Regions from separate parts of the Homo sapiens genome. Here regions 1, 2 and 4 are each linked to region 3. The links are contacts of gene promoters, found by promoter capture Hi-C in blood cells and fetal thymus (Javierre and others, 2016). All regions are on one chromosome and are shown on one strand. Each heading gives the region's core, a stretch centred on a gene start or on the middle of the fragment in contact. The rest is flanking DNA. Distances are from core to core; before and after follow the strand shown.

What was found. Contacts are between HindIII fragments. The CHiCAGO score rates a contact against its expected background, and 5 or more counts as called.
Region 1: a fragment that was not itself captured here is called in contact with the fragment with the promoter of GTPBP4 in region 3 in 1 of 17 cell types (endothelial precursors); the score reaches 7.6 in endothelial precursors.
Region 2: a fragment that was not itself captured here is called in contact with the fragment with the promoter of GTPBP4 in region 3 in 1 of 17 cell types (M2 macrophages); the score reaches 5.1 in M2 macrophages.
Region 4: a fragment that was not itself captured here is called in contact with the fragment with the promoter of GTPBP4 in region 3 in 2 of 17 cell types (erythroblasts and M1 macrophages); the score reaches 10.6 in erythroblasts.

Annotation. Positions count from the first base shown.
Region 1 is chr10:3,054,035-3,061,352 of GRCh38, forward strand. PFKP-DT (PFKP divergent transcript) reads right to left here. Exons shown (of 4, transcript NR_160681.1): 2 at 4,046-4,449; 3 at 1-62. Among named protein-coding and RNA genes, the nearest start is that of PFKP-DT, 9.2 kb to the right of the region's middle. The HindIII fragment of the contact is 3,364 bases long and covers 1,045-4,408 here.
Region 2 is chr10:3,077,377-3,084,804 of GRCh38, forward strand. PFKP (phosphofructokinase, platelet) reads left to right here. Exons shown (of 22, transcript NM_002627.5): 2 at 5,012-5,085. Among named protein-coding and RNA genes, the nearest start is that of PFKP, 14 kb to the left of the region's middle. RefSeq lists an enhancer at 363-1,298 and a silencer at 7,231-7,399. The HindIII fragment of the contact is 5,287 bases long and covers 1-4,082 here.
Region 3 is chr10:984,304-991,585 of GRCh38, forward strand. GTPBP4 (GTP binding protein 4) reads left to right here and starts at 4,131. Exons shown (of 17, transcript NM_012341.3): 1 at 4,131-4,224. The coding sequence starts at 4,177. It also overlaps a transcript of LARP4B not described here. RefSeq lists an enhancer at 5,878-6,773. The HindIII fragment of the contact is 2,419 bases long and covers 2,901-5,319 here.
Region 4 is chr10:3,094,605-3,101,837 of GRCh38, forward strand. It overlaps PFKP (phosphofructokinase, platelet), which reads left to right. Exons shown (of 22, transcript NM_002627.5): 3 at 4,671-4,748; 4 at 6,761-6,950. Among named protein-coding and RNA genes, the nearest start is that of PFKP, 31 kb to the left of the region's middle. RefSeq lists an enhancer at 547-1,746. The HindIII fragment of the contact is 8,096 bases long and covers 262-7,233 here.

The DNA.
Region 1 (7,318 bases), core at 1,477-3,976, 2.1 Mb after region 3:
GTGGATTCCACAATCCTAAAACCCCTTCAGCTCTCCATAGGTTTCTGGGAGGACACAGTTACCTAAGAGATTAGAGACAGCATCACAAAAATATAAGCAGATGATGTGTGTCAGTTAGGGTTAAGTTTGGCTGCATAAAATGGAAGACTCAAGCTAACAGAGGCTTACACATAGAAAGGTCTGTCCTTTCACATGAAAGGAATCTGAAGGGAGGCAATCCTCCCCTGTGCACTGGATCTGTGATCTTATCAGAGAGCCCAGCTTCTCCTGTCATTCCCTCAGGCACTTTGACTGAAGGTGGTTGTATCTTCTAGATCACCTCATGCCCCAAGATAGCAGCTTTGTTCCTGCAATCACAGCTGCATTCAAAGCAGCAGGAAAAAGAAAAAAAAAAAAAAGCCATACTCAGTAGTTGAACTCCTTTTAAGGAGTCCTTTTGAAAGTCGTGCTCAACAATTCTACTTAAATCACATGGGCCAGAATGGACCCACATGACCACATGCGTGCACAAAGACAGCTGGGGAATGAAGCATTTAGCGCAGAGCCTCAGTCAGAAGAGGAGGAGGAAATGGATGTTGAACCAACTGTTTCTGTCACATGGTGTTTTAGTTGAGCTTGGAAGGATGAGTGGGTTATTCACAGACGTGCTTGGAGAGAGACACAAGCAAGGATCGTTGTGGAAGAAGCATGCCGGGAATTTTCAGGATACAAAGAGTCCCCCCACCACTGCAGAGTCTTCTAGCTAAAAACTCAAGGGCTTCTGAATTATTTCCATACTGTTTCTTTCTAAATTTAGAAGATTTACAATTCAATTATGTATAATGCTAAGACCTTGTCTTCTTGGAGATAATTCAAAAACAAGTCTGTTTTTGTTTGGAAAGAGAAACCTAAGACCCACATGGAGGGGGAGGAAGTTTCTAGCTTCCTGGAACACAATGCTGGAAGGAATTCAGGTGAAATATTCCATGGCCTTCTGACTGCTCTCTGGTGCCTGTTGTGAAGTCTAAAAGCTGTGATGCTCCCAGGGAATGGCTATGTTCTGAAAGCTTTTCCAGGAAAGTATCTTGAGTTGGGCTACATCCTTAGCTCCCTGGTTCTCAGAAAGAGCCTTCTCGAAGTCCAGAGGGCACTTAGATAAGACAGACTACATGGCACTTGAGGTTTCCTCCGTGATTTTCTTCCAGACATCTCTGAGGCATCAGAAGCAAGGGTCAACAACTCAGTGTAATAGAAACTTTTAAATGGATCAAATATTAGGATAGAAGGAGAAACCTTCAAAATTATGCCTATTATTTAGCACTTCATCTGCCACAAAGCAAAACAAAGTATAAACTTCTCACTGCAACTGTGAGAGAAGAGGATACTAAAACATTTTGTCTTAGCCTGTTTTCTGCTTCCCTTAACAGAGTACCTGAGACTGGGTAATTTACAAAAACAGAGATTCACTTCTCACAGTCCTGGAGGTGGGAAGTACAAGGTTAAAGGGTGATCTGGCAAGGACCTTTGTGCTGTGTCATCCCACGGGAAGGTGGGAGGGCAAGAGAGCATGAGGGAGTAAGAGGGGTCAAACTCACTTTTGTAACAGACCCACTCTTGTGATAATGAACCCACTCCCCCAATAACAACATTAATCCGGCCGGGCGTGGTGGCTCACGCCTGTAATCCCAGCACTTTGGAAGGCCGAGGTGGGCAGATCACGAGGTCAGGAGATCAAGACCATCCTGGCTAACACGGTGAAACCCCGCCTCTACTAAAAATACAAAAAAATTAGCCGGGCGTGGTGGTGAGCACTTGTAGTCCCAGCTCCTCTAGAAGCTGAGGCAGGAGAATGGTGTGAACCCAGAAGGCGGAGTTTGCAGTGAGCTGAGATTGCACCACTACACTCCAGCCTGGGCAACAGAGCGAGACTCCATCTCAAAAAAAAAAAGCAAACAAACAAACAAAAAACATTAATCCACTCATGAGGGTGAAACCCTCATGACCTGATCACCTCTTAAATATCCGTCCCCTCAGCACTACTGCATGAGGGGTTCAGTTTCCAACACGTGAAATTTGGGGGACACTTTCAAACCATAGTAAGTAGGAAATGGCAAAAATAAATTACTTATACAGTGTTTATCACTAGTAATAAAGTATGCACAAAACATCATTTATAGTCTATATTCACTATAATATGTTGTGCTCTATTTTCATGTTAATTCATGCAAAAAAAACAAAGAGAAAGATGTTCGAGAGAGGTATTAAGAAACAGCACCATAACCTTTAGAAAAACTAGAAACTGGTAGAAGTCAGTGTTTTAAAAACCTTTTTTATTTGCTGCTTGTTTGGAAGTCAGTGGTGACATTTCAAGGAGGAGTTGTCATTGGGAGGGCAGATTTCAGGAGGCTTTAGTAAGAGTGCGTGGGGAAGACAGGGAAGGAAGGAGGACAGGTGACTTAGAAAGATTCCTGGTGGTGATTGGAAGTGCAGAAATAGAATGGTGACCTCAGGGAGAAGCAATTCAAGGAACGTTGTGCTTTTGCTTCTCTCTGCCTTTCTCCCCATCTCTCTTTCCATCTCTCTCTGCCTCTCACTTTGCCTGTCTCTGTTTCTCCCTCTCTCTCTCTCTCCTGGTTGCTCTGTCTCTCTCTGTCTCTTTTTAAGACTCTGTGTTTGTCTCTGTTTCTCTCTTCCCCTCATCTCTTACTCCATCTTTCTATGTCTGTCTGTGTCTCTGCTTCTCTGACCCTCTCTCTCTCTCTCACTCTCCCTCTTTGTGTGTGTGTGTGTGTGTGTGTGTGTCTCACTCTGTTGGTTTCTCACTCCCACTCTCCATCTCGCAGCTCTCTGGTTTCACTATGCAAGCTGACTCTCCCCACCTGATGATCCAGTGGGATTAGCAGGAAGCGGGTGGACCACCCCCACCACCCACATCCTGTGCCCATCCATGAACTGGGGCACAGGAGAGGACTGATCTCCCTACTTGGCCTGGCTGGACACGCTGACCCTCAGGTCCACAGGCAGTGGAAGGAGCAGTTCCTGGAAGGTGAGAGTGGGTCCTGTGGCAGATGGAAGAGACAAGTATGTTGAGCAACAAAAATGATCAGCACTTGGTCTATGGTAGCAGGAGCTCAGAGGTGAGGAATCTTAGGGCCTTAAACGAGCGGCCCACTGTGGCAAAAACTTTTTTAAACAAAAAAATAGTCAGCCCCTAAGGAGTGTTCCAATGACCACCTCTTAAGCAATACAATTGATCCTTGAACAATGCAGAGATTAGGGGCACCAACCCGCCACACAGTCGAAATTCAGCCAATAACTTTTGACTACCCAAAAACGGATTGACCGTTACCCAAGAATAGCCTATTCTTGGGTAAAAGCCTCAGTGATCACGCAGATAATTGGTTAACACAAATTTTGTATGTTATATGTATTGTATAGTGTATTCTTACAGTAAAGTAAGCTAGAGGAAATAAAGCAATCCTAAGGAAAATGTGTTGACTATTCATTAAGTGCCTCATCATAGAGGTTCTTCTCCTCACCTTTGCATTGAGTAGGCAGAGGAGGAGGATGTGGAAGGAAAGGAGGAGGGGTTGGTCTTGCTGTCTAAGGGGTGGCAGAAGTGAAAAAAATCCATGTGTAAGTAAGTGACCCATGCGGTTCAAACCCTGCTGTTCAAGGGTCAACTGTTTGAACAGGGAAGTTTTGAAGTGACCTCTTTTCTTTTCTTTTTTTTTTTTCCTTGAGACAGGGTCTCACTCTGTTGCCCAGGCTGGAGTGCAGTGGCTCGATCTTGGCTCACTGAAATGGAAGTGACCTCTTTTCAAACAGGGCATGGCCGGGAAAGGGGGAGGAAAATGGCAAAGTCTACCCCACAAACTCAGGACCAAGATCCCTAATTTCTTCCCCTGGTGAGCGAGGCTCCCATTCCCTGGACTACAAAGTCTATTTGGGTTCAAAGACCACCTAGGCTCTGGGCTTGGCCTTCCAAGAGAAGAGGGTACCTGGGCCCTCCCAAGAATGCAGAGCTGTCTGCCCCGGACGTGTGACCGCAGCTCTGATCCTGTACCTGGTCTGAGCTTCACTGCACCAGTCACTCCTCCTCCTGCAGGTGGACCCAGCCGCAGGCTCTAAACCAGGCAACACGTGGTTGTGGGTGGATGTGCTTGCAGGCAGAGGAAGAGGTCGCAGCTTACATAAGAATCTCAAAGTTGACACCCAAAGAAGATAAAAGCGCCTGCCGGATGCTGGCATATACAACTAATGAGGATAATGCTCTGGGTGTACATCCTGGCACACTGGAAGAGCATTCTTGTTCATGGTGGTAGTTTCAAATATTTCAGTGAGTTTTCCCTTGAATGCCTCAGCCGGGAGCCATTTCAGTTCCGCTCAGGCAGCAAGGGAGCTTCAAGGACTCGTAGTTAGGAATTCAAGCTTGTACACAGCGACAGGTCACAGGTCCGTGGAAGATACCTGTCAACCAATATTCAGATTTAGCATTCCATAACTGAGGCATAGGGCATCTCTGACCTCATCTGACATGGCTAAAATCATGATTGTTTTTCTAACTGGGAAATTTATGTAACTTATTTGCCAATAAAGAACCATCTCTCTCCCCCCATTTTCTGACATAACGCTAGTCATTAGGGAAATGCTCTGACAATGTTCATGAAAGAACAAACCAATGTCTTCTGCTTTAATACCACGGATTTAACACATATGACTCTTGCTGCTTCCATATGACACTAAAAGTATCAGGAGTGCCAGGAAGTCTCTTTAATCGTCGTTCTCCAAAGTGCTCAGGAGATGAAGTCATTCTGTGAAGTGGACTTCAGTTGACACCACTGAGAAAATGTCCCAGAGAAAGTAAAACTTGTAATGGCATCATACTTTACAGAAATAATGCAAACTTCTTTCTTTCCTTTCTTTCCAGTTTTTAGATATTAATTTTAATTGGTTCAGGGCAACCTGTTTCTGCATCAAAGTCTTGGGAAGCTTCCAACTGTTTTTATTTTTACTTTATTTTTTTAGAAATAGAGTGTCACTGTTTCACCCAGGCCAAAGTGTAGTAGTATGATCACGGCTCACTGCAGTCTCAACCTCCCAGGCTCAAGCAATCCTCAGGCCTCCACCACCTGAGTAGCTGGGACAACAGCTGTGCCACCATGTCCTGCTAATGTTTTATTTATTTATTTATTTATTTATTTATTATAGAGACAGGATCTCGTTATGTGGCCGAGGCTGACCTCAAACTCCTGGTCTCAAGCAATCCTTGTGTCAGCCTCCCAAAGTGCTGAGGTTATAGACATGAGCCACAGCACACAGCGGATTTATTTTATTTTCTCAGAACTCTATGCAACCTGATTCTGCATACTTAAGGAAAAAGAAGCCAGACAAAGGTGGAAGTAGTTACACACAATGTGAGCATCATTTGGCACTTAGACAAGAGAGGCAGATTATAAAAATAAAAGATTCACATGTCACAATTGGCTGTGGGCTTCGATATGGACTCCAGCACTTTTTATTTTTACTTTTTTGGGAGATAGTGTCTCACTCTGTTGCTCAAGCTGGAGTGCAGTGATGTAATCATAGCTCACTGTAATCTCAAACTCCTGAGTTCAAGTGATCCTCCTGCCTCAGCCTCCCAAGTAGCTGGGACTACAGGTGTGCCATCGCTCCAGGCTAATTTTTTTGGATTTTGTAGAGACGAGGTCTCCCTATGTTGCCCAGGCTAGTCTCAAACATCTGACCTCAAGCAATCCTCCTGCCTTGGCCTCCAAAGCTCTGGGATTATAGGTGTGAGCCACTGTACCCGGCCGAGAAACCAACCCCACCTGTTTTCTATATAAAGTTTAGCATCTAGATACAAAGCAAAATACTTTTTAAAGATCAAAGAATCTGCAGGGAAGCTGGTGGGAGGAGAATAGGCTGAAGGCAGCGTTTTCTGATCTACAGTTTTGCTTATTCTTGAACTTTCCAAAGTCCCGAAAGAAGCAGAAGGAAAGTGAGAAGAAGGGAGGAAGAGGCAAGAGGAAAGGAGGATGGTTGCCCCTCTGTGGTTGCAGATTAGCCCAAGGCAGCTCAGTGGCTGGCAAGGAAAGAAGGAATGAAACCCCCAAGGCCGAAGGCAGAGTCAGAGTCCTGGGTCCAGCAGGGTCTGGAGGGGAGGAGGGTGCCGGCAGCCAAAGACCTTCCCGCTAGCACTGCAACCTCTTAAATTGCTTACGCTTTTATCCAAATTTGATGTGTCTGCGTTTTGTAGACTTCCAAAACAAGTCACTTAGGGTAACGCAAGCAGGAAGGGGAGGATGATAGGAGAAGGGGCCCCACCTGATGCCGCCCTTCTGGCTTTTATCCATTCCTGGGAATGACGGGGGACGCCCCTATGGGAGATACAGTGGCGTGGAGCAACAGTGGAGAATTCCAAGTCCGAAAAGCAATTGGCATTTTAAAGGAAAGTAAGAAATCACCCTGAATATATGAAATACTGGGAAAAAAGGTTGTTACTGATAATTCTCAAGAGACCACTCTGGTGAGATTGGGTTTCTCTGGGGATGTGTCAGGCAGGGTATAAGTACTGAGTGGGCACCTCCTACCCACCCTTCAGGCTCCTCCCTCAGCTCCTGTCTCCTGAAGCAGTCAGAGGGCAGCTCCGGTCCTCACCTCCTCTGAGCGACCCGCTCACTCATTCACTCACTCATTCATTCACTCACTCATTCATTCACTCACTCATTCGGTCACTCACTCATTCACTCACTCACTCATTACTCATTTACTCATTCACCCCCTTTTACTCAATCACTCATTCATTCACTTTCACTCAGTCATTCACTCATTAACCAATTCACTCACTCATTCACTCATTCACTAACCCATTCAGTCACTCATTCACTCATTCATCACTAACCCATTGACTCACTCACTCAATCACTCATTCACTCACTCAATCACTCATTCACTCATTAACCCATTGACTCACTCCCTCAATCACTCATTCACTCACTAACCCATTGACTCACTCACTCATTCACTCACTAACCCATTGACTCACTCAATCACTCATTCATTCACTAACCCATTGACTCACTCACTCGATCACTCATTCACTCACTCATTCACTCATTCACTAACCCATTCAGTCACTCAATCACTCATTCATCACTAACCCATTGACTCACTCACTCAATCACTCATTCACTCACTAACCCATTGACTTACTCAATCACTCATTCACTCACTAACCCATTGACTCACTCCCTCAATCACTCATTCACTCACTAACCCATTGACTCACTCCCTCAATCACTCATTCACTCACTAACCCATTGACTCACTCAATCAC
Region 2 (7,428 bases), core at 189-2,688, 2.1 Mb after region 3:
TCAGCCTCCCAAGTAGCTGGGACTGCAGGCGCTCACCACCATGCCCGGCTAATTTTTTTTTTTGTATTTTTAGTAGAGATGGGGTTTCACCCTGTTAGCCAGGATGGTCTCGATCTCCTGACCTCGTGATCCGCCCACCTTGGCCTCCCAAAGTGCTGGGATTACAGGCATGAGGCATCGTGCCTGGCCTATTCCTTACTTTTTAAAAAAAAAATGCAATTTAGATTTTATCAGAGCAGAATCCCAGGAAACTGAGATTTGTAAACTGGGAAATCCAGCTCCTCCAAGTAGCCAGGAAATAAGGGTGACTTAAGTCATGCTTGCTAGGCCCTGGTGTAGGCCAAGGATGACTCTGACTCAAGGAAGAAACCGTCCTGTGACTCTCTTACCTGCATTGTGGTTTAGTAAGAAGCTGTTAAAAAGTACGGCATATGAAGAAAGCGATTTAATAATTGGTCAGAGTAATGACCAGATCTTTCCTATGAAACCGCTCCCTCATTATCTCCAACTTTATTTTTGGTTCTCATGACAAGATATTCACTTCCCTGAAAACTGGGATTTTTGCAAATTACGAAGCGGTGTTTTTCCAAATGTTAAGGTTCTTCTTTGGTAGGAAGATGTTATTTTCTCCTGGAAATCCTTGGGTTGGGCTCCCAAAACCAAAACAAAACCAGATGGATTAGCCCCAGGATGCCTGAGCTATTTGGACAATCTGTGGCTTGAGTGTTGAGTGAAAGACTCTGAAACTGCCCTTTGTCCCTTAATGGCTGTGTGCCAGGGCCCACGGACAGCCCTAAGGAAATGGTGAAACAGGTGACTTTTACCTGTGACGCCAAAAGCCCACGTTGCGGGCTGTGAAAGCCCTCATTGCAGGTGTGCACGTCTGCCTGCATTGCAGGTGTGCACGTCTTCGTCCCTGTCCTGTGGGTGACAGCCCGCCAGTAAATGCTGGTATATTTCCCCCTTGCTTTTCATCCACCAGTGTTCTTCTCCCTCCAAACCCCTCACTGAATGTTCCTGGGGCTTCCTCAGGTTTCATCTTGCAGGGCCCAGCAGGAGGCAGCTGACTTGCAGTCCTCACTGTTCAGAAGTTCAGAGGGAGGGCTTAGAACTAAACAGTCTCCACTCCCAGGCAATTAAATGAGCATCTGGCCTCAGCAGGTATTATTTTCCTTCAAGTTCCCATTGGTGACTCTGAGGCACAGGCATTGTAATAGAGGAAATTAGGAAGGCTTGAAAGTTAAAATGAAATAAGACTAGGGTTTACACTACAGCTTCACCGCTTACTAATGTTGTTACCTTCCAGTAATCAGTTTATCCCCCTAAGAGCCTCAGCTTTCTCATCCCTCCAGGGAGGTGTCAGGAGCTCTGCAGGCTTCCTGTGAGAAACATCCAGGCCAGGGCTCTGGCTGTGGGTCTGCAGTCAGCAAGGGACGTCCTACTGGGCCCCACCGAGTGCTGCCAGTCCCTGAGCTCAAGGAGGACACATGAATAAAAGCCCTTTGCAATGCATGGCTCCATCCTACCAATGCATAAATTAATAGAAGTCCTTTCAGGACCTAGAATTGTGTCTCTTTAAAAGTGTGGTGCCCCCATCACCTGGAAATTGCTAGAAATGCAAGTTCCCAGGCTCCCTCTCCACCTGTGAAACCCGGGGGCAGCCCAGCTACATGGGGGTGCTGCGGCCGCTGATGGTGAGCTCCTGCTGTGGGGTGGTGTCACTGTTCTTTCCAGGTGGGTGCAGGTGAACCCGGAGTGGGGGTGGGGAGAATCCAGCAGGGACTTCAGCGATTGAGTTTAGTGCTGGGGTGCATTTTTACTCTGCACAGGAGTCTCCTGGGGTCACCTTGTGTATCATGTCCAGCTTTTTTTTTCTGAGACAGAGTCTCGCTCTGTCGCCCAGGCTGGAGTGCAGTGGCATGATCTCAGCTCACTGCAAGCTCCACCTCCCGGGTTCACGCCATTCTCCTGCCTCAGCCTCCCGAGTAGCTGGGACTACAGGTGCCCGCCACCACGCCTGGCTAATTTTTTGTATTTTTAGTAGAGACGGGGTTTCACCATGTTAGCCAGGATGGTCTCGATCTCCTGACCTCGTGATCTGCCCACCTAGGCCTCCCAAAGCACTGGGATTACAGGCGTGAGCCACCGTGCCCAGCCTCATGTCCAGCTTTTAAGAATTTTATTCCTTCTTCTATGTCTTTCCACTTAACATTTCCTAAAATCCCCGAGTTCTTCATCATTCCTTTATGAAAGACCGGTGGGAACGAGGTCTTCAGAGAGCGGGGTGGGGGGGGGGGGAAGAGGAGCAGGGGTGAGGGGCCGCCATTGGGTCTTAGTTGTGCTCCTGCATCACCTGCTTCCTAGTGTTGGCACGGGCTGTGTTTGATGGGTAATTCATCCATTAGAGTGACCATAGCGTAAGGTCCTGGAACCAGAGCTGTGCGTCCACCCTTCGAGTTGAAGAGTCCAGGCACTGCTGAGCCCAGCCATGGGAGAGATGAGCGAGGACCTTCCACAGGTGTGAGGCCAAGGGGGCGGGAGGCTCTGTCCTGCCAGGAATAAATGGAATCAGGTGGGAGGCTCTGTCCTGCCACGAATAAATGGAATCAGGTGGGAGGCAAGCCAGGCCCTTTTCCTGGGAGGTGCCAGAGCCGAGGAGGAGTTGGAGGAGGAAGAGCGTCCGAGCAAGAGCACTGGTGGGACTGCTACCAAGGTTCAGGAACAGGAGCCTCCGAGTGCTGCCAGACAGGTGGGAGGTCCCTGGGGCATGGCCGGGAGCTCAGGGGAACTTGGGTTTTCTTCCAGTAGCCCTGGGAACCTGGAGGAACGCGGTCATATTCGTGCTTTAGAAGAGAACATTGCCGGGTGCAGTGGCTCAAGCCTGTAATCTCAGCACTTTGGGAGGCTGAGGCGGATGGATCACAAGGTCAGGAGATGGAGACCATCCTGGCTAACACGGTGAAACCCCGTCTCTACTAAAAATACAAAAAATTAGCCAGGCGTGGTGGCGGGCGCCTGTAGTCCCAGCTGCTCAGGAGGCTGAGGCAGGAGAATGGCGTGAACCTGGGAGGCGGAGCTTGCAGTGAGCCGAGATTGCACCACTGCACTCCAGCCTGGGAGACAGAGCGAGACTCCGTCTCAAAAAAAAAAAAAAAAAAAAAAAAGAGAATATTGAAACTGGTATGGAAAACATCTCGGACGTAGTGTCAAAGTGTAGAAAGAAATAACAAGTGTGAAACTCGCACAGCCCAACAGCAAGGCACCGTCCCCATACCCAGCTCTCCAACGGGGTGGGGCTCTTGTGGCTGTTACTTCATTTGTTTTTTTTCTAAACAAGAAGAATATATTCATAAATTATTTGCATAAAAGCAAATGAAAGAGAAAAAGCTGTTGTAATCCTTCTGGCCACAGTGTGGCTCATGTCAGAGGGAGTCAGGGAGTCGGGGGTAATGTTGGGAGCAGGTGTTGGTTGTATGGGCAGGAGCCAGCAAGGGTGTTAGCAGCATTCAGCGCCAGAGACAGAGAAGAAAGTTGTGCTGTTCGGCAAGAGAGAGGTTACAGCGGGAGGAGGAAATGATCAGGGTGAGATGACCTGCATTTTGAAATGCTGAGTTTGATGTTCTTGAGAGATGGCCACTAGTTAATCAGTAGGTCATTCGAATTCTTTGTGTTATAAGCTAGGTTTGAATATAAAGTAAATAAGACTATGTAATATATATATACACACATACATATACATACATGTTAGATACATAGTAAACATGCATTTACCTCTAAAATATGTATCCCCAAGGTTTTTCAGCCAAATAGATACTCTCATTCAGAATTGTCAACTTTCAGAGGCAATGGTGACTCCAGCATCGCTGACCTGGCCCAATGTAATTGAAGATTTTTCTAAGCATCTTCTGAGCCGGTCACCGTCCAAGTGCACATAGCCTGCCTCTGTCACAGATGCCCCTGCAGGACCACAGTCCTTTCATTTGTGGTTTATTGACTGGAAACATCACTGGCTTCATGGCCCACGAACTGCAGCATCTTTAGTTCTGACAGCTGTTTCTGAAACTTAACTTTGCAGAGGAGGAAGCTTGGTGCTCTCAGGTGTGTTTGGGAGCAAAGGCACTGAAGGCTCAGGTGTTCCTCATCCTTAAGCAGCAGCGCTGCATGGCTGTGGGTGCGGCCCTCGTGCCTTTTCACTCCTCTCCCGATGGGCCTGAGCTTGTTAGCCACGACAGCAAGACAGACCCTCCAGGCCCAGAGGTGGTTCCGAGACACTAGTGGCTTCAGCTCCCCCAAATCCAGCGGCAGTGGAGAGCTAGGTGGAGGCTAACAGACTTATGATACATTGTAAGCAGACTTATATGATGATACATTGTAAGCAGACTTATATGATACATTGTAAATAGACATGATACATTGTAAACAGACCTACATGATGATACATTGTAAACAGACTTATATGATGATACATTGTATAACACTGTTCTTCTCAAGGGGGGCCTCCCTTTATCTTCATGAGGTATGGTTATTTGTAATATGCTGGTTTATTTTAACTTTACTGATAATAAAATTGCATGACTTGTTTTCTGTTGAAGCCCATTGCCTTTTTTTTTTTTTTTTTTTTTTTTTTTTTTTTACAGTGGTAGTTGGTGATGTGATACTCCATTTTTCATCTCCTTCTCAAATCACACACACACAGAATTTGGCTAGCTGCAAATAAACCCCTATTCTGTACTTCGTTTTGCAGTTGAATGGAGTGGCCTACAAATTCGTACCAAGTCCAGGCAGTGATGTTTTGAACAGAAAGTAGCCTGGGCATGGGGGTACCTTGCGTTACGTTGGCTGTTTCTTTTAGTCCTTACCCTAATCCCAGAGGAGTGTGTGTACCCATTTCTCATATTAGGAAATGAGGCATTGAGAGGTTAGGAAACGGACCCATGGTCATGGGTAGTTAGTGGCAGAGCCAGAATTACCCCGGGCTCTTCAGTGACTCTTGCTCCTGTTTCCACTGCAGGTATGAACGCTGCCGTCCGTGCCGTGGTGCGCATGGGTATCTACGTGGGGGCCAAGGTGTACTTCATCTACGAGGTCAGTGTCTGCCCCTCACCCCCTGTCGCCCTTCTTCCACCTGCCCAGAGCCCTGCAGTCACCGGCGCTCGCTCACCCCTGCCTCCCCCATGCTGAGCACAGCCGAAGAGGTGGGCAGGGGAGCAAGATCCTGCCAGCCAGGGCCGTTCCTCAGCCCACAGAAGCCCCTGGTCTGCAGGGACAGATGCCTGGTCTGCAAGTTTTTTGTTAGGCAAGAGGAGAAAGGAGATGAGAGGGAGCCCAAAAAGCCATTTTCTTTTTTCTTTTTTTTCTTTTTTAGACAGTCTTGCTCTGTTGTCCAGGCTGGAGTGCAGAGGCACGATCTTGGCTCACTGCAACCTGCTGGGTTCAAGCAATTTTCTGCCTCAGTCTCATGAGTAGATGGAATTACAGGTGCCCACCACCACACCCAGCTAATTTTTTGTATTTTTAGTAGAGAAGGGGTCTCACCATGTTGGCCAGGCTGGTCTGAGTCCTGTCCTCAAGCTATCCACCCGCCTTGGCCTCCCAAAGTTTTGGTATTACAGGTGTGAGCCACTGTGCCCAGCCACAAAAGGCCATGTTGATATCAACTTCCTGGTGTTGATTTATAGGATTAGAAATCAACCAATGATCTCTAATTGGTTGTATTGGTTGGTTGGTTGTATTTGTCTGAGGCTCTTACTGCTGTAGAAGTGATTTATTAATTTCCAATGTAGGCTGAATTTGAATACACATTTAGGGAAATGAGGAAAACAGCCACTTTGAGCTTTTCATCATTCATGTAAGGTGGAAACGATGCCTAGTGTCTGCTGATGTGTTAAATAGCAGGAGTGACTCCCTGTCTGCCACTTTTGAAGTCCTGGCAACTTAAGACTAAAAAGTATTTGAAAGGAAGGCACCAATAGAGTTTGGATCACAGTATTAATTTCAGAAATTATTAGGAAAAATATTTAATGTTTAAATTTATAAAACATAGCTTTAAAAATGAGAAGAAGGTATTTTTGTAAATCACTTAATGCCTCCAAAATGGCTATTAGTGTTTTAGTCTGATTTCCTTCAGTATGACGTATGTAAAACACCGGAAAGAAACACACACATTAGGAAAAGTACAGCAAACACGTTCTGTATACTGTGTTTTTTGTTTACGATTATGTCATGACTTTTCACTACGTAGGTTTCACGACTGTTGCTTTAACTTATTTTATTTTATTTTTTTTGAGAAAAATCTCACTTTTGTCCCCCAGGCTTGAGTGCAATGGCTTGATTTTGGCTCACTGCAACCTCCGCCTCCCAGATTCAAATGATTCTCCTGCATCTGCCTCCCACATAGCTGGGATTAAGGTGCCTGCCACCATGCCCAGCTAATTTTTGTGTTTTTTAGTAGAGATGGGGTTTCACCATGTTGGCCAGGCTGGTCTCGAACTCCTGACCTCAGGTGATCTGCCTGCCTTGGCCTCCCAAAATGCTGGGATTACAGGTGTGAGCCGCCGCGCCCAGCCAACTGTTGCTTTAAATGTCAACATACTGTCTTGTTGAATTGATGTCTCATCATTTATGATGGACCCTGTATTCCACCATTCCTGTGGTATTGCACTATTTAGCTTTCTCCCCGTTTTTTAAGCTATTGTAACACTGCAAGATCTATGTTAATATTCAAAGCGATTTGATGTTTTGTATTATTTAATACCTTGGTCCTAATATCAGGCACCGACTGAGCTAAAAGGGACAGTCATCATGATGGCTTGGGATGCCTCTTGCCTAAGTAATTCCTGAAACCTGTCCAGCCTCGTCCCAGCCCCGCGCAGGGAAGGCGGTGCTCTAGCTCCCATGATGATGCTGTGTGCCGCTGTGTGCGGCGGCCTTCTGAGCACTGGCAGGTTTCCCCTGTCTGCTTTCTAAGCCATGTTTCCCTTTGGTGAAATGGTTGCTACTATTATTCTTTGCTCATTTATCTGTGTATCCATTTGTTTATCATTTGCTGGAAAGAGGTTTTTTTGTTCGTGTCATTGTTGTTTGCTTTTATTCAATTAAACTGGTTACGTGGTTATTGTTTGTATTTATGCGATTTGGGCAATTTTAACGGAGGGTCTAGCTGTAGCATTCCCAGGCTGTTGTTTTTATCATTTTATATTTGGGTGTTTTTAAGGTCAGATTGCCCTCCTGAGTTTCCCTGCCTGGACCCTGGCCCTGGTGGCAGCTGCCCCTTGCTCAGGGATGTGGAATGAGCACAGTAGACGCGGTCTCCAGCACAGTCCTCCAGCCCCTCCCCAGGAGAGTCCTCCAGCCCCTCCCCAGGAGAGTCCTCCAGCCCCTCCCCAGGAGAGTCCTCCACCCCCTCCCCAGGAGAGTCCTCCATCTCCT
Region 3 (7,282 bases), core at 2,881-5,380:
ATCATTTGGAAATTGATCATACAAGCATAAGTACATGCATTCCAAATACGTGTATGATTATTATCACAAATCTTCTCTAGGAAAAGAGATCGCAAGATTTCCATTAAACCTAAAATTGTTCCTTTATGGAACAGCAGAATGCAAAGAATGTTTTTAACAGTGTGTCAATAGAATGACTCGTACTCAACCCATAGAAACACCCCTTATCAGCAGCTCTGACGTGAGCAAGGGCAGAAGTTCATTAGCACAGGTGCCTGTCATGATCCACGCACAGGAACGGAATTCTCACAGAAGAAACACAACCTGTCTGCATATGCAAACAGTGCTTTAGTGAAACACAGGTGCTGGGGGATTATTGACAGCATATGACCCCAAGTGCAATCCATCATGTACCTCCATTTAAATACCAAACAATTCATGACCAGCCTGGACAACATGGCGAAATCTCCCCTCTACTAAAAAATACAAAAAGTAGCCAGGTGTGGTGGCATGTACCTGTAGTCCCAGCTACTCGGGAGGCTGAGGCACTTAAATCTGAGAATTGCTTAAACCTGGGAGGTGGAGGTTGCAGTGAGCCAAGATCACACCATTGCACTCCAGCCTAGGCGACAGAGTGAGACCCTGTCTCATAAATAAATAAACAAACAAACAAATACCAAACAAGGTAATAACTCTACAGAGGTCAAGAACAAAGCCACTCTCGGCTGGCAGTGCAAAAGGAGAGTGGCTTTGGAGTTCCATGCGCCCTGAACGCACCTCATTGTGTCTCTCCAGCTGTGTGACGGTGAGCAAGCACTCAACCACCTCAAAGCCAGCACTCTTGTCTGTGAAACAGAGACAATCACACCCACCTCACTATGCTGTCCCGAGAAGAAAGCAAGTGACCTGGCACATGGTGGAGGCTCCCTGCATTGCAGTTGTTAAGGTTCAACGATAATTTAATGAATAGAACAAAAGTTTAGCAAATATTATTGTAACTAAGCAGCTAATAAGAACATAGATAATACATAATGCATAATTAATAATACACAATCTCTTTGCTCACTTATTAATGCCTGTAGAATAGGGTTAGTGAAAAGCTAAAATAATTCACATAAAGTATTTTTAACATGCCTGGTAGATAGTAAGTGAGCAAAGAGTGAAGAAACAGAGGCTTGGGGAAGCTGAGACATTTTCCCAGGATCACAGCGGGTGGAGCTGTATCTCAGAAATGAAGCTCACAGTCTTAACTCACTGTGTAATTCTGCAGAGAATGTCAGGCTGCACCTTTGGCCCGGAGGGTGGCTCTCATGCCATTGCTGCCTTCCACCTAAGGAGGTGTTTCCTTAGACCTCCCTGTTGACAGCTTTCCTCTTTATGGCACAGTGTGGAGTTCTGACCCACTTCAGGGTTGTGCAGAGGGGGTCTGACAGTACTGTAATTCAGTAGGACTACTTGAGTATTGCAGAAGCTTGATTCCAACCGCTACAGCCCCTACATCAGGAACTTACTCAAGCCAACATTCAATCAACGGAGTTCCACAGTCACTGTGAATGCTCTTGGCAGTGCTGCCTGAGGTGAGGGATGGCAAAAAAGTAAGACACAGTTCCTGTCCACGAAGAGCTGGCTACTTCTTTTGGAAACAAGATGTACACAAGGAAGCATCTAGGTACAAAGCAGCATGTGACTCGTTCTGAATGAGTTCCTGTGGGGATCCAGGGAAGTGGCCGACGGGCCCAATGGAGCACTCATAGGACCCTCTAAGACCGGATGCCTACTGATGGCTAATCCCCATGTAAAGGCTCCTTTCAGGCAGGAAGTTCAGTTCTGCAAAATGTACCTTTCATCCATCAGAATTACAGCAACGAGAAGGTAAAACAGAAAAGACCAAACCCACAAAATAAAAAGGTCTGAAAAACAAAGCTTTTTACTGAGAAGTGCCTCGCAGTCAGAAGCTTTGCAGAGTACCCTTGAGAGCATCCTTTACTACAGCTGAGAAGTACCTTTCTGTCACAAGGTACACACTCAGAGGCGTCCTGGCAGCTGGAACCTGCTAATGCAGTCAGGAACTGGCAATGTGCCTCGTACTGCAGGCAGCATTTGCGACACTCCTCAGAAAAGGCCTTTAGAGTTTGGCTTCCCCAGAGAAGCCCAGAAGTGTATGATAAAGAAGCTTGCTCCTAGTGGTGTAGAATACATACTTGCCCCCAAGAAGCTATACTCTGCCACAAAATCACAAGAACAGGCAAGGATGTTGATTCTCATCAACACGCACATGGTGTAAGATGCTTGGTACCTTATCATTGTTATAGCTCTGGGCCCATGATGAGTCATTATGGTTGTGCATTCACAGACATGCCTTTGTAGCTGAACAAGTTAAAAGCAGGTGGCTCATGCCTGTAATCTCTGCACTTTGGGAGGCCAAGGTGGGTGGATCACTTGAGGTCAGGGTTTGAGACCAGCCTGGCTAATATGGTAAAACCCTGTCTCTACTAAAAATACAAAATATTAGCCGGGAGTGGTGGCAGGTGCCTGTAATCCCAGCTACTTGGGAGGCTGAGGCAGGAGAATGGCTTGAACCCTGGAGGCGGAGGTTGCAGTGAGCTGAGATGGCGCCACTGCGCTCCAGCCTGCGCGACAGAGTGAGATTCCGTCTCAAAAAAAAAAAAAAAATTAAAGAAAGGATGTTTGCCCATCTGAAGCAAAGTATTGACTGGACTTATCTAAATACCGGATTACAAGAAAAAGAGGAACTGGCTATATCAGAGTGAGAGAAAGTGGGAGAGGTTGAGGAAACATACAAGAACCTAAAAGAAAGGGCAATAAGTATGAGCATAGCTTTGCTAATCTCGGAAATGGTGGCCAGAACTGTCCTGTGGTTTAGCAAATGATCATAGCCAGCAAATCCTAATTACCCTAGAAGCTTCCTTTAGAAGTGCCACAAAGATGTAGGAGGTATGCTTATCCGCCTTGTGACACAAAAATGGAAGCATAGTTAATAGATGAGAAAAGCATGACCCAGAATGATTTTCAATATTGGAATGCTGGGAATTTATGAGAGGTATTTTCGCGTAAGAATAATAGGACTTGTTTAAAAGGATTGGAGAGTGGGGGGCATCCCAGATGCGTGAGAAGCAGTATAGCTAATGGTTAGAAGCAGGTTTGCTGGAGCCAGGCTGCCTGGGTTCAAAGCCCACCTCTGCTGCCTGTTAGCTTGTCAGCTGCACAACCACGGGGTGCTTTCGAGCCTTGTGTGCCTTTGTTTCCCCATGCACTTCATGAGGCTGTTGCAGAAATTAAACGAGTTAATATATAGTCAGCAGCTCTGAACACTGCTTGACTGAGTCAGCCCTACCTAACGTTTAATTTAAGGGATGTGGCCCTGGGTTCCCAAAGGGAGCGGCCACTCTATTCACAAACATAAAAGCAGTAAAGGCTCCATCCTCATCAACCTTCTCCTCAGTTGGACCCCACAGGACTGTCTCTCGCAACTGTTCCCTGGGCTCTCCTAAGGCACTGCGCGGAACCAGCTGCACCTCTTTTGCCTTAGATCAGGCTTTCCCTTCTCCGCCCGTTTTGGGATTTAACAAGCACGAGAAAGCAGGGCTGCAGGGAAGCCGCGAGGGCCTCCTCACCACGGCCCGGGATCAAGTCCCACGCGCGAGGCCGGGGTAGGGGCGTCATCTGCTCCACACCCAGAGGCTGGGCACGCCCCGCACGCGCGGCTTCCTCCTCCTTTGCGGGGCTCGCCGCGACCCAGGACCCCCAGACTCCCGGATCCCCTAGACCCTCTGGACTCCTAAGCCCCGCAACTCCCAAATCCCAAGACCCCGGACCCTCCAACCCTGGCCCAGGGCGCGTGGCTGGGGGCCTGAACCCGCTCCAGAAACCCGCAGGGCAGTCTGTCGGAAACCCCCGCTTTACTCAGCAGGAATTTAGTCTCCGCGCTCCCCCTAAAACCCGGGCGTCCTCTCCTCTGTACCCTCGCTCCTGAGGCCCTCACACGCCCTCCGTGGCTGACCTCCAAGCCGGGCGGGTGCGCTGTGCGACGCGGAAAGCGCCGTAGAGCACGCAGAACACGATTGGCTGAGCTCCCGGAAGTGACGTACCTCAACCGCCCGACAGTGGAAGTCCCACCTGCGCCCGACGGCGGAAGTTCCGGGAGTGCCAAGTACCCGCGTGCATACGGCTGCCGGCATGGCACATTACAACTTCAAGAAAATTACGGTGGTGCCGTCCGCCAAGGTAGGCGGCCCCGGGAGGGCCACTGCAACTTTCGCGTTCTCCTCAGCTGGGTCCCCGGGGAGGGTCCGGGCCTGTAGCCGTGGGAGAGCGGTCGCCTTCCGCTCGCCCATCCCCCGCTCCTGGGCCTGACCGTCTGGCCGCGTACTCGGGATCATTTCCCCTCCCCCAGCAGAATCCGGGGTCCACCAGAGATCGGATCCCCCAGAGACCGGGGTCCACCTAAGACCGTGGTCCACCCAAAGACTGAGGGCCCCCAGAGATGGGGGTACACCCAGAGTTGGGTTCCCTGGAGGGGCCCCGGGTGACGATGTGGGCGAGTGGAGGGGGACCCCGACATGTGAGGGAGGAAGCGTTCCGTGGTCCGTGATGAGCCTTCGGATTCTGGGTTTGGCGTAGCCCCCTCCCCTCTCAGGAATCCTGGGTTCGTTGTTCTCGTGATTTAACGTTTCATAATTTTTAAGTCATTCTCTTTCACTGTTAGATTTGGGAATACCTGTTCCTTTTCAGACCATAGTAGGCCCAGACTAAATTTTTACAGCGTTGGTTGGTGTGGCAAGAATGAGTCAACAAGTGTTGAGTATTAGGACTTTTTTTTTTTTTTTTTTTTTTTGAGACATAGTTTTTCGCTCTTGTTTCCCAGGCTGGAGCGCAGTCTCGGCTCACTGCAACCTCCACCTCCCGCGTTCAAGCGATTCTCCTGCTTCAGCCTCCCGAGTAACAGGGATTACAGTCGTGCACCACCACACCCAGCTAATTTTCGTATTTTTAGTAGAGACGGGGTTTCACCACGTTGGCCAAGCTGGCCTCGAACTCCTGATCCCGGGTGATCCTCCCGCCCCGGCCTCCCAAAGTGCTGGAATTACAGGCGTGAGCCACTGCGCCCGGCCCTAGTATTAGGACTTTTAAGAAGTCACGTTTTTATGTAGTGAACATTCGATTTGGGTCGCAATTACACAGACATTGACGGGCAACTGGAGCCTCCCAGGGACTCCTGCACGAGAGGGAGTTACTGAAGTCCCTGCAGAGTGACTGTTTTCCCCTCGTCAGTGCCTCCTTTTCTTCAGGTCTCAAGGACGGGATGAGCTTGCCTTGGAAAGCTTTGTGGGAGTCTCGTATTTTACCTTCATAGCAAAAGTTGTTTCCCCACTTCTCTCCACCATTTCTTATTTCTTCCTGACAGTTGTTCTGGCACATCTCTTGATCGATTGTAGTATTTTCTTTCTTTCTTTTTGAGATGGAGTCTCGCTCTGTTGGCCAGGTTGGAGCGCAGTGGTGTGATCCTGACTGCAGCCACCGCCTCCCAGGTTCAAGTGATTTTCCTGCCTCAGCCTCCCGAGTAGCTGGGACTACAGGCATGCGCCACCAGGCCTGGCTAATTTTTGTATTTTCAGTAGAAGTGGAGTTTCACCATGTTGGCCAGACTGGTCTTGAACTCCTAATCTCAAGTGATTCACTTGCCTCAGCCTCCCAAAGTGTTAGGATTACAGGCATGAGCTACTGTGCCCAGCCAGATTGTAGTATTTTCGAGTGCAGGAGTCATGTCTTATTTGTATTTTTGGTCAACCATCTCTCAGGTTTGTTGAAGGAATTTGCTCTTTGGATTATATGAACTTTGTTCATGTTATTGACTTATGTGGAGAACTTTAGAATATATTATACACCATCCGTCTTCTGTTCTGTGGAGTGAGATTTATATTTTTAGAGAACAGATGACTTATCTAAAAACTGGGTGATGGTAATTGTTTGGTGATTGGAAGTAAAAAAAAAAAATCACATCGGGAAAGTGTGGTATTCAGTTCATTCTAGAAGATGTTGAGTGAGTGCCTGTCCTGTGCATCGGGTACTGTGTTACAAAAATGCATTAGATAAAATACCTGCCTCTTTGGAAGTCATTTTCAAGAGAGGTAAGTCGAGGCCGGGTGCGGTGGCTCTCGCCTGTAATCCCAGCACTTTGGGAGGCTGAGGCGGGCAAATCACGAGGTCAGGAGATCGAGACCATCCTGGCTAACACGGTGAAACCCCGTCTCTACTAAAAATACAGAAAAATTAGCCAGGCGTGGTGGCGGGCGCCTGTAGTCCCAGCTGCTGGGGAGGCTGAGGCAGGAGAATGGTGTGAACTGAACCCAGGAGGCAGAGCTTGCAGTGAACCGAGATCGCGCCACTGCACTCCAGCCTGGGCAACAGAGCAAGACTCCATCTCAAAAAAAAAAAAAAAAAAAAGTGGGGTAAGTCATATCTCGTATGACCATACTAGAAATAAAACATTGTTATCATGGAGGACACACATGGATTGGGAGAGGAGAAGAGTGTGGTTAGCTGTGGTAAGTTGGAGAGTCAGGGGGAACCTTATGAAGTAGGTAACCTTTGACTTGGTCCCCCTTCAGGATGTGCGAACGGCATTAGGTGCAGAAGAACGTAGAGAAGATCTTGTGTGGGCCCAGAGGGGAGACCGTGTGTGCCCCTCATAGTACTTGGCAGACTGTTGTGACCACCCGTTTACTTGTCTCACTTGTAGGCCCAGAGGGGAGACAGTGTGTGCCCCTTATAGTACTTGGCAGACTGTTGTGACCACCCATTTACTTGTCTCACTTGTAGGCCCAGAGGGGAGACTGGGCGTGCCCCTCATAGTACAATACTTGGCAGACTGTGTTGTGCCCACCTGTTTACTTCTGTCACTGGACCCTGAATTCCGTGAAGGAAGGGACAGTATCTTGTTCATTATCCTCAGCACCCAAGTATCCCTAACAACCTTTGTATGAAATAATATTGAGTTAATCAAATTGTTGAATTAATCAAAGTGTTCAAGAAAAAAGGTCAAGTAATATTGTGTGGCTAGATACATTGGATTTAGGAATCCTGGGGATCGGATCCTTATTAAAGAGAAGTGCTGACTCTTTGCACTGGGTAACTCATGCAAAAATCCTTCATCTCCTCAAATAGTTCCCTTCCATCTCTTTGGAAATTATAAACAGTGGATTTTAGTTTTACCTGTTATTTTATGTACTTTCAAAGTCAAGGGTATGCATAAACAAATGGGAGGATTGTTTCTTTTTCTCAA
Region 4 (7,233 bases), core at 3,060-5,559, 2.1 Mb after region 3:
CTGCCTCTGAATTTCCTAGAGACAGGATAAAGCCACGATTCCTGGCCTTTGAAAACCATTGACATAGTGAAATTCCTGCCGCCTCTCTTTCTCGCACACCTAGTTTGGAACGCTGGTGTTTCCCAAGTCTAAGCCTAGAGAGCCGTTCAGAGCTGACCTCTGCATGCATGCTCTGAATTCTAAAAGTGAAATGCTTTAATTTATTAAGGAATGTTGTAGCTTTAGGTTCTGTGGGGGAGGGAAAAGGATTAAACTAGGGAAAGCTTGATTCTGTAGGAAACAAAAAAAATAGTATTTACTCAGAAGCAGCAAAGCCCCTACATCTCTGGATGCAGTAACTATGTCTGCAGGAAGCTGGTGATAACACTATCTGGAAGGCACTTTTAAAGTCTGTTATCTCTAGGAGCTTGTTTTATTCTGGTAGTTGGAATGTTCACCATTTGGAGTTAGTTGAGTGAAGAATTCAGGAAATCAGATTGGAAAAAAGCATTATCCAGTTGAGAAGACACATGGACCCATGCAACAAGCATTCTGAAAGAAAAAGCCTACTGCTGCAACACAACGGTATAATTTCCCTTTGTCTGTAACTTTAAAAAAAAAAACTTACATATGAGACGTCCGAGAAAGCCACCCATAGGTGAACTACGCGCATAGGTGAACTAGCTTACTCCATTTATGATGGATTCGGCGATTGCCTAAAAATTCTAGTCAAAACCACCTCTACATATAGAATGATCTCCTACATGGTTAGAAGGCTGGTTATTTTGACACAGCTCAAAACAATTTCGAATAAGTTGAAATGACTTCAGAGCCTGTGGCATGTTCTTAGATGTGATCGAATGACTCAACGTAAAAAATTCTGTCCGACGATGGATCCGATACAGCCAACGAGGAGCTCTAAGGTTCATCTTGTGAGTCAGAGTCAACAAGACAGAGAATGTTACTTTGGCCAAAAAACTGAGATAAGGTTAAAGGTTTTATGCTCTGTTTTTCCTATGTGAGTCATAAAACTGGCTTGGAAGGCAAATTCCAAAAGGGTGTTTTAGGAAACGTCTGGGCTTTGGCTGTAGTAAGATAAATATTCAGCCTTCTAAGAAGACTTCAAAAGAGAAAACTCATCTGAATTTCTACGTTGTAGTACGTTTGGGCAAAATGAGTCTTCCTAATTTAGTAATATCTTCCTTGTTGGTGAAAGACGGCTTAGAACTGCGGCTGGTAGTTGCTTTTCACATGTTCCATGGGCGTCGTGACTTTGCAAATTAAAGAATGAGTCATTTCCTAGCAACTTAGCTCACGCATGCACTAGACAGGGAGCATTGGAGGTGGCACTCAGAAAGCCCTCCCTTTCTATTTTTTAATGGCTTTCTTTGCCACATGCATCTATGCAACACAAAATAATGAAATTACTTTCAGAGAACATTTTACTTTTCAAAATGTTGTGGTTTGCAGAGCAGTTTTCTTACTACTCCAGAAGCAAGAGGATTCGTTAACATGTTTGATTAAATCCGTATTTAAATTCTGTGAACTCATGCAGGGAAAGGAAATTGTATGGTTCCCACTATGGCATATTAACTAGTAAAATGCTGGGTGGCGGTTGACTTGGAAGCAGCGTCCGGGATAGCGCGTGCTCCAGGAATACTCTGAAAGCTGATGCCGTTAGGGGTGCATGGTTGACTCCTGGGCCTGAGACGGCCTCAGGATGCTGCAGCGGCCTTGGCATCCTCTTCAGCAGGGTGGCGGCCGGAACTGGCACCTTCCCCCCGGTCTCTTTATTTACCAAAAAACTGCATGCACAGAAATGACCGCAACAGCTCTGGGTGTGGGAATGTAGGAACTGTCTGTTTCAGTTTTGCCGGAGCCCCAGGTTTACGGCCGCTCTACATCCCAGTCCTCTCAGGGAGGTCCCGGTTTCTGCTGCAGTTCAGGCCCCATCATGGGTCATCTTTTCTCTCCTCCTGAGATGTGGGCTTGGAGGATGGGAGGTCGTGCCTCTAAGAAGGGTCCGTTTCACGGTGGCCCAGGCTACATGCCTGCTTCCTTGTTTCCTTGCCCCCCCGAGCTTCATGGAAGTCAATCTGGAAAGTCAGGATCACTGCAGATGGCAGTTTGTTCAGTGTTGCTCCCAGACCTGAAGAATGGAGCGCTCTGTTGTGCTTGCAGAATGAAGCATAATTCTTAGCAGAAACCTGGGAGGCCGGGTGCGGCGGCTCATGCCTGTAATCCCAGCACTTTGGGAGTCCGAGGCGGGCGGATCACGAGGTCAGGAGATCGAGACCATCCTGGCTAACACGGTGAAACCCCGTCTCTACTAAAAATACAAAAAATTAGCCGGGCGTGGTGGCGGGTGCCTGTAGTCCCAGCTACTAAGGAGGCTGAGGTGGGAGAATGGCAGGAACCCGGGAGGCGGAGCTTGCAATGAGCCAAGATCACGCCACTGCACTCCAGCCTGGGTGACACAGCGAGACTCCGTCTCAAAAAAACAAAAAACAAAAAAACCTGGGAGTTTGGGGTGGTAGAGATCACTGAAACTGCAACCCCAAGGCTAGGTTATCTCTTTATTTATGTATCCACCCACCCGCCTACCTACCTATTGTACTTACAATATTCTGAGGATTATGGCCTCCAAGAGTCATTCATGGCTTTGCACATGACCGTCTGTTACCAGTGAGTCCTTGTGTGGACAGAGCATCCGCAGCAGGACAGAACATAAACGGTGCCTCCCAGGGTGCCCTGTGCAGAGGCGAGGTCTGCATCCGACCTCACACTTGCTCACCCTCGCCCTCCGGGGGACGGCTACACTGGGCTCATCTGCACTGCAAGGGAAATCTGTTTTCAGAGCAAGGGGAGACAATAATAATAATAATAATCCCTAGAGTGAGACTGGGCTGTGTTTAGAAGATGTTCTGCTGTTTTGCCATGGAGGTAGGGGGCCTGGTGATGGGCAGTCCCTGTACCAGCCTGTGAGCCAGGGCCTGGGTGCCTGGGGGGTCTCGGGAGGTGCAGACGGGGCTGCCAGCGCTGAAATGAACCAGCTCTGTTTTGGGTTCTGTTCCATTCCAGACTGTTTTCTCCTTTCTTGTTTATTACATGTATGACACTAAATTATAAACACACATGTGGCCAGGCATGGTGGCTCACGCCTGTAATCCCAGCACTTTGGGAGGCCCAGGCAGGCAGATCACTTGAGGTCAAGAGTTGGAAACCAGCCTGGCCAACATGGTGAAACCCTGTCACTACTTTAAAACAAAAACAAAATTAGCCAGATGTGGTAGTGTGTTCCTGTAATCCCAAGTACTCTGGAGGCTGAGGCAGGAGAATTGCTTGAACCTGGGAGATGTAAGTTGCAGTGAGCCGAGATCGTGCCACTGCACTCCAGCCTGGGCAACAGAGCAAGACTCTGTCTCAAAAATAAAATAAAATAAACACACATATATATATAATATTTCTGGTAGAAATTTATAAATATAAGTATACAAATTGGCCAGCTATCAAGGTGCCTGCACTATTGATTAATTTATATATAGAACTCCATAATCTATGAGTCATTTCAATTTTAAAAACCTTTCTTTTTTCTGTCCTCCGGACCTTCACTAAGGTGGGCTTATGGATCCAACAATAATCTATCATGAACTTTTCTAAATCCTTAATAGTTATTCCTTCTTAAGATTAAATGCTGTGGAAAGTGAGTTATGTAGATGAAGTTACCCGTGGGCATTGCTGCATTTCCTGATCTTGTATATTCCGTGGAGAAAAAGATGGGGATGCATTTAGCATTGAAAGGTAATTGTTGGCCAGGCGCGGTGGCTCACGCCTGTAATTCCAGCACTTTGGGAGGCTGAGGCAGGCGGATCATGAGGTCAGGAGTTTGAGACCAGCATGGCCAACAAGGTGAAGCCCCGTCTCTACTAAAAGCTACAAAAATTAGCCAGGTGCAGTGGCAGGCACCTGTAATCCCAGCTGCTCAGGAGGCTGAGGCAGGAGAATCACTTCAACCCGGGAGGCAGGTTGCAGTGAGCCGAGATCGCGCCACTGCACTCCAGCCTGGGTGACAGAGTGAGACTCCGTCTCAAAAAAAAAAAAAAAAAAGGTAATTGTCCTTGGGCTTCTTCTATCAATGTGTCCTCACATATTGATATCTGATTCCCTAATGCAGCACCGTGTCATTAATGGAGGGTAAGGCAGACAATTATTATTCAGCTGTGCTGTTTAATAATATTCAACATACATCCCAAGTGGCGCAGGGTGCCTTGGCAGGCGGAGCCCCTGACAAAATGCTCCCATGTATGTCCCGTGCTCGACAGTGCTGTGTGCCTGTGAGTTTGTGCTGAAGTATGATAAACACGTTGGGTGAAAGTGACCCCTTTCAACCTCTAGCGAAACACGACCCTTTCAACCTCTCGGGAAACGCTGGGCCATAGGAGAATGGCTTGATTCCTCATTGCACTGTGAGGCTGAGTCTAGGCAGACGTTCCCATTACTAGGGACTCAAGGTGAGGACTTTCCCACAATTCACTGCTTTTATCCAGTGCTGGAACTGCCCTGTCTTCTGACCAGTGGATGCTGAGGAACTGACATTCACTGTCATTTTTCCCGTTTTATATAATTTAAGGATCACTTCCCATTTAGTGAAGTTTATCTCATTTTTAAAAGATTCTCCCTTTCTCCCCTAGGGCTACCAGGGCATGGTGGACGGAGGCTCAAACATCGCAGAGGCCGACTGGGAGAGTGTCTCCAGCATCCTGCAAGTGGTAGGTACTGGGCTGCGTCCACAGGGTTCTCTGAGTTAGAGACTCTTTTATGTCTAGTAAATTCCCAGAACACTTGAGCTCAGATCAGTTGCGAAATAGAGATTATGTGGACAGAACAGACTTTGTGAGCAGCTCTTTACTTGTGGTTTGATTTTTAGAAATGCATGTGTTAATCTGTGAGTCACTTTGAGTACTTGTTAATAGAAATAATCCAAATCGGTGCCTCCCCGCTGAAGACGCTCATGGGGCCCACACCTTCGTGCTGGTCCAGGCTCTCTCTGCATTGGGCGCCTCCTGAGCTCCGACACATCAGAAGAGAGGTGGAGGGAATTTTGACAACCACGGAAGTTAGGTGGAGCAACGTTTGCAAAACATCAGGAGAGTGTGGGCTGAATTCACACAGGGGAGCGTTTCCATTCTGCGGTCGTGATTGACGGAGGAAGATAAGATGTGAACGGAGAGTTGAAGTGCGTATGTGTATCAGTGAGTCTGTGTTTCTGTGTGTGGTGTATGTGGTGTGTGAATCTCGGTGTGTGTGTAACTGTGTGAGTCTGGTGTGTGTCTGTATGTAGGTGTGTGAGTCTGAGTGTGTATGTGTGGTGTGCCCGTGTGTATGTGTTAACTGTGTGAATTTCTGGCTAGCGAATGTGTATCTGTGTGTGGGGTGTGTGTATATGTGGTGTCCTTGTATGTGTAGGTGTGTGGTGTGTGTGTGTGTGTGTGTGTGTGTGTGAAAGAGAGTGAGTGAGAGAATGGGAATGGCACCCACTCCTCTGCAGCCCAGTTATCCTGGTTTCGTTCCTGAGTTGCGGCCACCTCGTCTCTTTGGTTGGAGTTTCTGGGTTGCTGGCTCTAGCTCCCATTGTGCTGGCTCTCGTGCTGCCCCCCAGGTTTTTGTCCAGGCAGAGTCCAGAGAGCACCCCTGCCCTGCTCTGCGCCCCCACCCTCACTTGCCTTGGGGGTTGGGTTGTAAATGGTCTCGGTCACACTTGGTGCCAGTGACGTAGGATCGTGTGGAGTGAATTTCAGTTTTTGTAACCTTTTCATAATGTTTTGATAAATTAAATGGTGGTAGGTTTCATGTAAAAATAGGAGCTTTTCTGGGATTTGGAATATTAGTGAGTCTCTGTGTGTGAAAATGAGCTGTGTGCGTGCACCATTGGTGTATCGAAACACGCACTCACGTCACTGCAGGGGTCTCCTGGGAGCTGCCTGCAGACCGAAGGCAGGGAGAGCTTCGCCTCCAGTGCAGAGACAACCCCTGCTGTGCTTATGAGCACCTTGCTTGACAAAGTCAGCACGCGCTTAGGGATCCCGTACGGATGGAGTTTTTTGGTGCATTCATGGTTTTATTTAAAGAAATCTTGCATTTGTGGATCCCACCAACAATTCTTAGTTTTTGGAAAACCAAGTGTGACGAATCATGATCTATGTCCCCTGGAAGTTTGGATGAAAGAATTTAAGATCCTGAAGATATAGCTCTTTAAAAGGGGCAGCGAGTATGTGGTGCAAAAAAAAAAAAAAAAAAAATCCCCCTGGCCCCAGGTTCCTGCTGGTTTTACTTGCAGGTGCTGTAAGGGGTGACTGGAGGGAGAAGCCTGGCTGCTGGTCACACCGCTTCCCTTGTCCTGGCCGGCATGCTCTGGTGGTCAGTGGGCTTGTCTTTGGTTCCACGTGCACCTGGTTGAGCTCGTTGGCCGGTGCTGAGGCGGCTGCTGTGACACCGCAGGCTGGTTCCTGCTCCATGTATTTAACTGCTGGCTGCCGTGTGTCTGGCTCTGCACCCTCCCTGGCTCCTCCTGGGTGTCACGCGCCTGTCTTTGTCCATGGAATGCTGGTCTGGGACTAAAAACAGGAAAATCACAGTCTTTCATAGCTAGTTACTAACTCACAAGATGAAAATGAGAAAAATGTAAATTCTAGCACCCCATGTTTATAGTCGGCCTGTGTGTGCCATCCACCTGGCGCTCTCTCAGACTGAGAGGAGATAAATTAGCTGGTGTCTTTCCCAGGGCGGGACGATCATTGGCAGTGCGCGGTGCCAGGCCTTCCGCACGCGGGAAGGCCGCCTGAAGGCTGCTTGCAACCTGCTGCAGCGCGGCATCACCAACCTGTGTGTGATCGGCGGGGACGGGAGCCTCACCGGGGCCAACCTCTTCCGGAAGGAGTGGAGTGGGCTGCTGGAGGAGCTGGCCAGGAACGGTGAGTGGACACCTGCTCCTCTGTCCTGCGGGTTTTCGCCCTGTTTCAGAGCTTTGGAACCGACAGGTTTCCCTCTTCACTGTGGCAGAAGTACCTCTTCTCACAGATCTTACAGGTCACCATCTCAGGACTTTTTAGGATCTCAAAAAACAACAGCAATGATCGTAAGAATGCTAGTAATTTAACCTTACCATGTGCCAGGCACCCTTCGACCTTTCACACAGATAGCTTTATGGAATCCTCACGACAGCCATCTAAGCCAGGTTTTAGATCATCCCATTTA